2 separate regions of the Homo sapiens genome follow, and region 1 is linked to region 2. Evidence: promoter capture Hi-C in human tissues and cell types (Jung and others, 2019). All regions are on one chromosome and are shown on one strand. The core of a region is centred on a gene start or on the middle of the fragment in contact, and the rest is flanking DNA. Distances in the headings are between cores, read along the strand shown.

The links. The method cuts DNA at HindIII sites, captures the fragments that hold promoters and counts their contacts. A contact is called where the count stands out against the background at its distance.
Region 1: the fragment with the promoter of RASSF1 here is called in contact with a fragment that was not itself captured in region 2 in 2 of the 25 tissues and cell types used here (dorsolateral prefrontal cortex and spleen).

Annotation. Positions count from the first base shown.
Region 1 is chr3:50,337,555-50,342,085 of GRCh38, forward strand. RASSF1 (Ras association domain family member 1) reads right to left here and starts at 3,282. Exons shown (of 6, transcript NM_007182.5): 1 at 3,002-3,282; 2 at 351-457. The coding sequence starts at 3,251. It overlaps ZMYND10 (zinc finger MYND-type containing 10), which reads right to left. Exons shown (of 12, transcript NM_015896.4): 9 at 4,461-4,531; 10 at 4,256-4,377; 11 at 4,020-4,145; 12 at 3,558-3,931. The coding sequence ends at 3,856. RASSF1-AS1 (RASSF1 antisense RNA 1) reads left to right here. Exons shown (of 1, transcript NR_109831.1): 1 at 1-746. RefSeq lists enhancers at 1-563, 391-650, 731-820, 2,387-3,210, 3,211-4,033 and a silencer at 3,022-3,541. The HindIII fragment of the contact is 7,648 bases long and covers 1-4,531 here.
Region 2 is chr3:50,241,940-50,247,149 of GRCh38, forward strand. All of the region lies in intron 1 of GNAI2 (G protein subunit alpha i2), which reads left to right. Among named protein-coding and RNA genes, the nearest start is that of GNAI2, 8.3 kb to the left of the region's middle. RefSeq lists enhancers at 749-888, 860-1,470, 1,179-1,538, 1,471-2,080, 3,700-4,415 and 2 more. The HindIII fragment of the contact is 4,121 bases long and covers 1-3,561 here.

The DNA.
Region 1 (4,531 bases), core at 2,032-4,531, 97 kb after region 2:
TCCACTCACAGACCCCACCTACCACAGGGAACGGGGGCGGGTGCCAGCGTCCGGGCAAGCGCACAAGAGTGGCCTCTGGCCGGAGGCGAGGGCGGGAAGGTGCGGGAAGTGCGCGTGCGCGGAGCCTGGGTCAGCCTGGGCCCGGGTCCGCTTGCAGCGGGTGGAGTACTTGCGGAGCCGGCAATCCAGGCTCCCCTCCCAGCCCCCGCGCAGAATTAGCCTCTCTGTGCCGCCGGGAAATCGGCAATTAGAACGCTCCTTGCGCGCGGCACCCAGGCAGCCCTCGAGAATGCCTGCACTGTGGCCTGCCCATCCTCGCCCTTCCCATACGCCCTCGGCCCCGCGCTCACCACGTTCGTGTCCCGCTCCACCGCGGGTTCCCAGCCCAGGTCCCGGGGCCCGCAACAGTCCAGGCAGACGAGCGCGCGGCAGCGGTAGTGGCAGGTGAACTTGCAATCTGCAGAGAGGCCTGGCGGTGAGGCGGAGGAGCTCCAGGTCGGGGAAATGTCCCGGAGATTGAAGGGAAGCCCCAGGGAGAGGGCCGCTGCTCGCCAGGCTCCGCAGGCCCGACCTATCTCAGTGGGTTACCTCACACTGCTACGCGGACTCTAATGTTGGCCACCTGGGCGTCTGGAAACCGGCCGGAAGGCCACAGGCAGAGAGGCCTGCTCAACAGTTGGATCTCTATCGCCTAGCACAGAACTTCCCCTTTCCTCATTGGCAATTAAAAAAACAACAACAAAAAACTGCGTCTTGCTTTTGTCACCCAGGCTGGAGTGCAATGGCGCGATTTCGGCTCACCGCAACCTCCGCCTCCTGGGTTCAAGCGATTCTTCTGCCTCAGCCTCCTGAGTACCTAGGATTACAGGCGCCCGCCACCATGCCCAGCTAATTTTTGTATTTTTAGTAGAGACGGGGTTTCACCATGTTAGCCAGGCTGGTCTCAAACTCCTGATCTCAGGTGATCCACCCGCCTCGGCCTTCCAAAGTGCTGGGACTACAGGCTTGAGCCACCGCACCCGGCCCTTCACTGGGAACGTATATGGAATACATCTGCCCATTTACTTGAAGGAAAAACTAAACACCTTTAACCTACGTCTGCCCTGTGGTTGTCACCTGTCTCTACTCCCCTCAGACCAAGACACTGGTCTCTATACACTCTAATCCTTCGCCTTCACTCTCCCCTCTACCCACTCCAGCCAGGCTTGCCTCTTCCTCCAGGAAACTGCCCGGGACAGGGTCCTCAGCGATCTGTGTACTACCAAATGGAATCCAGTGTTCCATTCTCCATTCTCACCCCCTCAGCATCATTTGAAGCTTGCTCCCTTTGACTCCCAGGGGCTACACTCTCCCAGTTTTCCTCCTACCCCCTGCAGCTCCTGCTCAGCTCCTTTGCAGATTCTGACTCAACTTCCATATCTCACGATGAAGTCTGGGCTCAGTCCTGATCACTGGCCTGGTCTGTCTACATTCATCTGCCCCAGATCCACGGCTGAAACACTGACCTAAACCCTCAGACTAGATCCTCCGTGCCAGTACCTTCACTAGGATGTCTAAAAGACGTTTCAAGTGAACATGGCCAAAATTTAATTCCCTTTTCTTCAGCCTCACTGCTACACTTGCCCAGCTTCCTCTTTGCAGCAAAAATGGCCACTAGGCTCCCAGTTACTGGAGACAAAAGCCCAAACTTATCTTTGATTTCTCCCTTGTCTCTACCTCTGATAAACATGCCCAAATCATCCTGCTTCTTATCTCCATGGCTACTTTATTTCTCTTTGAGAACGCTGCAATGTCCCAGCCTTGTTCTTTTTTTTTTTTTTTTTTTTTTTGAGACAGAGTCTCACTCTGTCGCCAAGGCTGGAGGGCAGTGGCACGATCTCGGCTCACTGCAACCTCCGCCTCCTGTGTTCAAGCAATTCTCCCACCTCAGCCTCCCGAGTAGCTGGGATTACAGGCACCCGCCACTACGCCTGGCTCATTTTTTTTTATTTTTTAGTAGACATGAGGTTTCACCATGTTGGCCAGGCTGGTCTTGAACTCCTGACCTCAGGTGATCCACCCGCCTCCGCCTTCCGAAGTGCTGGGATTACAGGCATGAGCCACCGCGCTCGGCCCCTTGTTCATTCTTTGCATTCTGTCACAACTTTGTGCTCCCCCCAGCTGAATTTGTGATGTCCTCTTGTACCGGATGAGAGGGTCTCCATGCACACACAGACCTGGGACACTATCCATCCACAAGTTCCTAAATAGGCCAGAGCAGTGATGCTCAACCCAGACTCCATGTTACAATAATTTGGGGAGTTTTTAAAATTTACTGATGCCTAGGGTCCACTCCCAGCAGTTGATTCAACAGGTCTGCGGTGGGATCCAGGCTAGCGGGGAGGACTGTAAAAGCACCCCTGGTGATTCCAGCTGGTGTCTACCCAGGGGAGAGCAACCTTTGCTTGCTGGCGATTCCCAGGGGTGCAGAAGGACTGCTGGGTGTGTGGCTGCGTGCATATTTTAGCATCTGATTCACTGGGTCAGAAAAGGGTGTTTGCTAAATAAAGACTCAACAAAACTCCTGCTTGCAGGGGGCCCACCAAAGGTTCTAAATTTTTCCAGGCTCCCTCCCATAGGTGGTAATTTCCCTTCACCCTAAAGGTTCTGGAGGGGGTCATGAGTGTTTGAGAAGAGGCAAGCCTGGGAAGATGGACTCCGAGGACAGTAGGCACAAACCCTTTCTCAAGAAGGGCCAAGGCATTTTAAAGATAAGAAACTTAAAATCAGCGTATTTTTACATATAAGCAGCCACCTCTGCTCATCTGTGGCCCAGATACGAGTGGAGTGCGACAAGGGATAAACCATTTTCGCGCACTCTTCAGCGATGGGGCGAAAGTAACGGACCTAGTCCTCGGGAGCTGTCCCCGCCGACCCCCTCTGCCGCGACTTGACCCGCGGCGACTGCGCTGCCCCTTGGCTGCCCCTTCCGCTCTCGTAGGCGCGCGGGGCCACTACTCACGCGCGCACTGCAGGCCTTTGCGCACGACGCCCCAGATGAAGTCGCCACAGAGGTCGCACCACGTGTGCGTGGCGGGCCCCGCGGGCTGGAAGCGGTGGCCACGGCCAGGGACCAGCTGCCGTGTGGGGTTGCACGCGGTGCCCCGCGCGATGCGCAGCGCGTTGGCACGCTCCAGCCGGGTGCGGCCCTTCCCAGCGCGCCCAGCGGGTGCCAGCTCCCGCAGCTCAATGAGCTCAGGCTCCCCCGACATGGCCCGGTTGGGCCCGTGCTTCGCTGGCTTTGGGCGCTAGCAAGCGCGGGCCGGGCGGGGCCACAGGGCGGGCCCCGACTTCAGCGCCTCCCCCAGGATCCAGACTGGGCGGCGGGAAGGAGCTGAGGAGAGCCGCGCAATGGAAACCTGGGTGCAGGGACTGTGGGGCCCGAAGGCGGGGCTGGGCGCGCTCTCGCAGAGCCCCCCCCGCCTTGCCCTTCCTTCCCTCCTTCGTCCCCTCCTCACACCCCACCCCGGACGGCCACAACGACGGCGACCGCAAAGCACCACGCGGAGATACCCGTGTTTCTGGAGGCCAGCTTTACTGTGCTAGAGGAAGAGGGTCCCCACATCCGGCCCTGGCCCTCCTGGTCCGGTTTGCTGAAGCAACACACTTGGCCTACCCACTGGGTGGGGCAGGAAGTCTCGAGCCTTCACTTGGGGTGAGGAGGAGGGAGATCGGTCAGCAGCTTTACCGCCCGCTCTGCTCTCCACTGCGGAGACTGGGGCTCCGGCAGAGGCTGGACCGTGATCTTGAGGTTCAGGGGTGCATTCTGGGTGGATTCCCTTGGCATGGGTGGTCGGCCCTCAGCAACTGCAGCCCTCATTTGGCTCTGTCACCCTGGGCTGCCAGGACACAAGTCTTTCCATGCTTTTCCCAGTGCTTGACTTGGCACTCCCTGCAGGCAGGTGGGTATTGAGGATGGCAATGCATGTGGGGGATGTGGGAGTAGGGCTTAGAGGTCCAAGGTTCTAGGATACCCTCACCTGCAGCAATACCACTCATTCTGGCATCGTGAGCAGCGCTTAGAAGCCTCTGCACTGCAGTAAGCACAGCGGGGCCGCTCTGGAGCCACTGCCTCTAGCACATCCAGCCTGTAGGTCTCAGCCCACCTGGGGGAAAGTCAGGAAGGTCTGACTGGCCCTGGAAGGTGGGGGCACCCCACCCACATCCATGCCTCCTGCATCCCCTCCACCCTCCCTGCCATTTCCACAGGCCTTACCTTCGCGCCTGCAGCCGCAGGTCCTGCTCTGAGGGGCTGAACACATGCTGGAGCTGGTGCTTGGCAATTGCCTGCCACTTGCCTCTGTTTTCTCGCTCCAGCCGCTCCCAGATTTCTGGGATCTAGGAGAGAGAAGTGGAGAGTGGCAGGAAGGTGCTGGTAAAGTGGGACAGTGGTCCTGAGCAGCTAACTTTCCAGTGCCTACCTGTTCCAACACCAGGTCCTTCTTAGGAGGCTGGGTTTCAGTTAGGGTCAGATGGGCCAGGAAACTCTGCA
Region 2 (5,210 bases), core at 251-2,750:
GGGTGGGGTGTGGTCAGGTCCCAGCAAGGTCCCTAGGCCTCCAGCACTGCAGGGGGTGGGGCAGTAGGTGCACTTGGGGCTACTTGGGCCACAGGCAGACACACAGGTCCTGTATACTCTGCCGTTGATCTTAGTTCTTGGTCCCTGGCTGTGACTCTCTCAGTCTGTCTCTAAAAGCCACCCATTCACTTGGCGGGAACAGGATGGAGGAAGCTTTGTCCACCCAAGCTCTTAGCCACTGAGGAACCAGGGACTCCCCCCACCCCACCCACAGCAGAGGAGGAGACTGTCACCCCAGAGCCTGAGTGCTGCCTCCCCTACATCCCGTTGTGCTGTGGGGGGAGGCAGGACCGGGCAGATGGGGGCAAGGTACAGGCCAGGGAGTAGTCTCATCTTCCCAGCATCTCAGGCCAGGAATCCCAGCCTAGGAGTTGAGCGAGGAGGGGAAGGGGTCAGCAGGTTCTGGCCAGGCCACTGCTGATACACCCTGCCTAAGAGTGCTCTGCAAGGTGCTTTGGGGAAGGCAAAGGATTGGGCCCTTTGATGGTGTCCCTGGTACCTGATGCTCTCAGGCAGCCCTTCCCTCAGCTACAGGTGCAGGGTGGAACCCCGTCTGCCCAGCCCCACCCAGCCCTTCTAGCTTGAAGCTCTCGTTCTTACTAAACCCCAACCCCACCCTCACCCTGATGTTACTTCTTGGGGCTGTGGCTGCTCTTGGTGGCTGGGGAGGAAGAATCTTTCTGGAATAACCAAACATTTGCTGGGCTGGTTCTTCTGTGCCGGCCTCTGTGCACATTTACAAGGCTTGAAAGGCAGCACCACACCAGTCTGAGCAAAGGCCTAAAGGTGGGGTCATCTCAGCCTTGTTGGGGAGAAGATATCCTTATGGCTTGGAGGAATCTGGGGGCTCCAAGGCTGCTGACAGCCTCAGGATATGCAAAGGAGGTGATGGCAGCACCTACTGTGTGTGCCCCCGGCGGGAGGAGGAGGTAATGAAGTCTGCACGACATGGCAGGGCAGGGCTGGGCCTCTCGGGGAAGTGGTGTCCACACCAGAGGAAAAGGAGGAAGCAGCTGGGGGAGGAGGAGCCCAAAAGAGGAAGAGGCCAGAGGGCTGCCTGGTGCTAGGGTGGGGGTGAGAGCCCAAGGGCCCCCCAGGGCTTTGCCAACTGGAAGGGTCTAGGAGGTGAACACCTGCCCAGGCTTATCTTTGCACTCCTGTGGGCCATTCTAGTGGCGGTCACTGAGTTGGAGCCAGTCCAGGTAGCTCTGTACCTTGTCCCACCCCAGCAACCATCGGGCCCAAGATCCCAGAGAAGGTGGTGCCTTCGAGAAGGATTCCAGGCCCCTTCTTTGGCCACAGGAAGTTGTGGCTGGGAGAAGGACGCTGGCGGGAGGGCTAGCAGGAAGGCAGAGGGCTGCTCTTAGATTCCCGAGCGGCCATTGCTCTCCAAAGCCGGAAGGCCAGCCACAGGCTGAGATGAATGCCTGGAAATGCAGCAACAGCCCCGAGATGAGCTCACTCTGGGTTTCCCCTGCTGGGGGGCGGACAAAGGATCCCTGGCCTCAGCCTAAGGATTCTCCCCTACCAGCACCCACTCACTGGGTCTAGGGCTGCATTCACTGGGCCTGTTTCCCCTCAGGTGATAACCACAGCTGTCTCTGATTGAGCCTTGACTGTTGTGTGGAGCTGAATTCTTCATTATCTTGTCATATTTAATCCTGTGAGGCTGGGACTGATATTACACCCATTTCACTGATGGACAAACTGAAGCTCAGGGACTTTATGCACTTAAACAGGGAACAGAGATGTCAGGACATGACCCATGTAGTGATTAAGCGCCTGCCTCCAACTGCCATGGCCCTTTGGGAGTCTGTGCTGGCTGGAAGTAACGGATCAGGCAGGACAGCAGGCAGACGGTGTGGGTGCGTGTGTGTTCTGCCTGTGCCTATGGGCCCTGGCTTTCGGGCCTCAATTCTTCTTTTAGGAGGCGGAAAGGGAGCTGTCTGTCCTGGAAGGTGGGACCCAAGACTCTGTGTATGAAGCTTTCTACAGCCATGTGGTCATGGGGGACCCCCTCCACTCCTTTTTTTTTTTTTTTTTTTTTGAGATGGAGTCTCACTCTGTCACCCAGGCTGGAGTGCAGTGGCATGATCTCGGCTCACTGCAACCTCCGCCTCCTGGGTTCAAGCGATTCTCCTGCCTCAGCCTCCTGAGTAGCTGTGACTACAGGTACGTGCCACCACGCCCAACTAATTTTTGTATTTTTAATAGAGACGGGGTTTCACCATGTTGGTCAGGCTGGTCTCGAACTCCTGACCTCAAGTGATTCGCCTGCCTCGGCCTCCCAGAGTGCTGGGATTACAGGTGTGAGCCACTGCGCCCGGCTGCAGCTGCACCTTTTGACTTCCCACTTTTTCTCCTAGTCCGTATCCTCTCACAGTGATGCTCAAGTTATAGCTGGCAATTTAGGACTTCATTCTTTCCCTAATATTATGCTTGTTCTCCCATAAGCCCCAGTCTTAGACTGAGACCAAGCCTGGGGAAGGCTCAGAAGCTATTGAAGTCCATGGTGAGGGCCTCTGAGACTGGGAATTGTCCAGAGGAGTGAAATGAAAGCATGTTCCTTAGGGCTGCACTGTGAGCACAGGCTCAGTGCTGGGTGCACGTACGGTACTGTGTGGTGGTAGAATGTGGCCATGGTGTTGGCTGATGACTGCATGATAGTTGTTGAGGCTGGTTCCTCTTGCTCCTTGGCCTCCGAATCTCAGTGCTGTGGCCTAGTGGGGCCTTGCCCTCTCTTGTAGGGGTTCCTAGGGGTTCTGCTGTGTTGCCAGGCCAGGCCGTAAGGGACTGAGGGGGCTGAGGAAGGCTTAGGAGAGCCAGAGCAGAAGCGTCCAAGCCTCTCTGGGCCATGAAGCCATGCACAGAGCAGAGACCCGTGCATCCTCATGGCCACCCAAGACTGTGGGTCCCAGAGGGTCCAGTTCCTCACCATGAGACCTCAGACTGTCCTCTTCCCTCTCTGTATCCAGCACTAGAATCTGTGATGCTGTGATTTTTTTTTTTTTTTTCTGAGACTGAGTTTCGCTCTTGTTGCCCAGGCTAGAGTGCAGTGATGCAATCTCGGCTCACCACAACCTCCGCCTCCCAGGTTTAAGTGATTCTCCTGCCTCAGCCTCCAGAGTAGCTGGGATTACAGGCATGTGCCACCATGCCCGGCTAATTTTGTATTTTTAGTAGAGACAGGGTTTCTCCATGTTGGTCAGGCTGGTCTCGAACTCCTGACCTCAGGTGATCCGCCCACCTCAGCCTCCCAAAGTGCTGGGAATACAGGCGTGAGCCACCCCGCCCCGCCAGTGCCGTGATTCTTAGCATGGTCTCCTGGCCTGTGGACACAAGGACAGCTGCTGGCTTGGGTTGGGCCCTGAGGCAGTTTGGGGTGACTTTGAAGAGGCTACTCAGGGCAGGCCTTGGGTTTGGCACCCTCCCTCAAGGGGTACATTTCATAGATGAGGCCTAGGCTCCCGTTATCTTTCCCAGAGTCCACCGCCATGAATCAGAAGGGAAAAGAGGTCATTCAGGTGCCTTGGGAACAGCGGAGGGATGCCTGAAATGAAGAGGCCTCCAGGGAGACGGTGCCAAATGGCCCAGCTCCGCGTGATCCGCGTCTTGTCCAGCACCTCCTGGCTCCTGCACAGGCGGTACCTGGGGCCTGAGGCGCCAGCGATGAACAGGTCTGGGGCCTCCTTTATATCAGGCCAGCCTTCCTCACCCGGTGCCTGAGTTTCCCTCTGTGCAGTGGAAAGGGCCCCACTGAGGGAGACACACCTTGCCCCAGAAAGACTTTCCCATGTGTGGGCAGGACCTGAGGCCTCAGTTTCCCTAACACAGAGATCTCTGACTTGGCAGTAGGAAGCCAGGCCCTGCTTGGTAGTGCTCCCCTTTGGGCACTGTGAACCCCTGGAAGCCGCTGGAGGCAGCCGAGTGCCAGAGACTGGCGGGAGGGAGGTGTGGAGTCTGTTGGTCTGTTCAGGCATCCGTTATAGGGCCATGCCACACACATGGGTGGGAGTGTTGCCGGTCCCTTTCAAGACCTCGAGTCCCTGCCTCCCAGTGCCGGACCCGTGCTGAGCCTTCTCGGAGGGAATGAGGGGGGCCGGGGAGCAGCACCTGGAGGAAGGAAGAGACGCCAGGGGCGGGGCTCAGAGGGCCTTTGTCTGGCGGGGTCTCTGCCCCTCCCTCCCGTTGCCATGGTTTCTGTGTGTGCCGAGTCTCTGCAGGCTGGGGGCTTCCCAGGGACGGGCTGGTGGGTGGGACACCTTCCCCAGTCGCCCCTGGCTGAGGCTGCTTTTCTGAAACAAAACGCTCCCCAGTGCTGCCCAGCCCCCACTTCCTTCCACAGTGTCTCCGGCTGCCGGGCGCCCCCTGGTGGTGGCGGGGCATGGGTCCCTAGGACTGCAGGGGACGTGGGGGTGCACGGGATCTGAGAACCACAGGCTGAGCTGGAGATGTGGCACCTTCCTGGGATAAGAGAAGGAGGTGGTGTCCGGGCTGCCTTTGTGGTGGGCTCAGGGCTACCCCCACCTGCCCCACCATATCCCACTGGGATAGGCTGGGGAGTTGTGGCAGTGTGGGCGGGCCTGGTGTTGTGGGTTTGAGCTGGGCCGCTGCCCAAGTCTACCCTGTGGTCCCAGCCGCTGCTGCTTCTGAGAATCTCTGCCCTCGGGCCTGCCACGTCAGCTGGCTGCTCTTCCTGGCCCCACGTGTTCCCACGGAGCCCACCAGTATGGGGGTTCTCTCCAGGGAGGTGTGCCTGGCTTTCTGGGTGTGTGCAGCCAGTGAGCAATGTCAGCAGTGAGGCTCCTGGGCAGGAAGGAGGCCCCAGCTGTGTAGGAGTGCCGGGTTATACTGAAGGGAAGTGACGACACAGCGGAAAGCCAACAGAGGAGCCAGTAGCTCTGACTCCTGTCCCAGGTTATGCTGAGTCCCAGCAGGGAACCACCACAGCTCTGAATCAGCCTGTTAGCCGCTGTCCATTGCTCTTCATCTGCTCTTTATCTGAAAATCTTCAGAAGCTTTCCTTCAAATGAGATGACCACAGCAGTCTTCTCTGCAGGTTGCAGGAAATGAGAGGTTTGGGGAAATCTGTACTCTTTCAAAGGGTAGATAAATAGTGATAACTTTTACCTGAATGCTCACATGTGCCC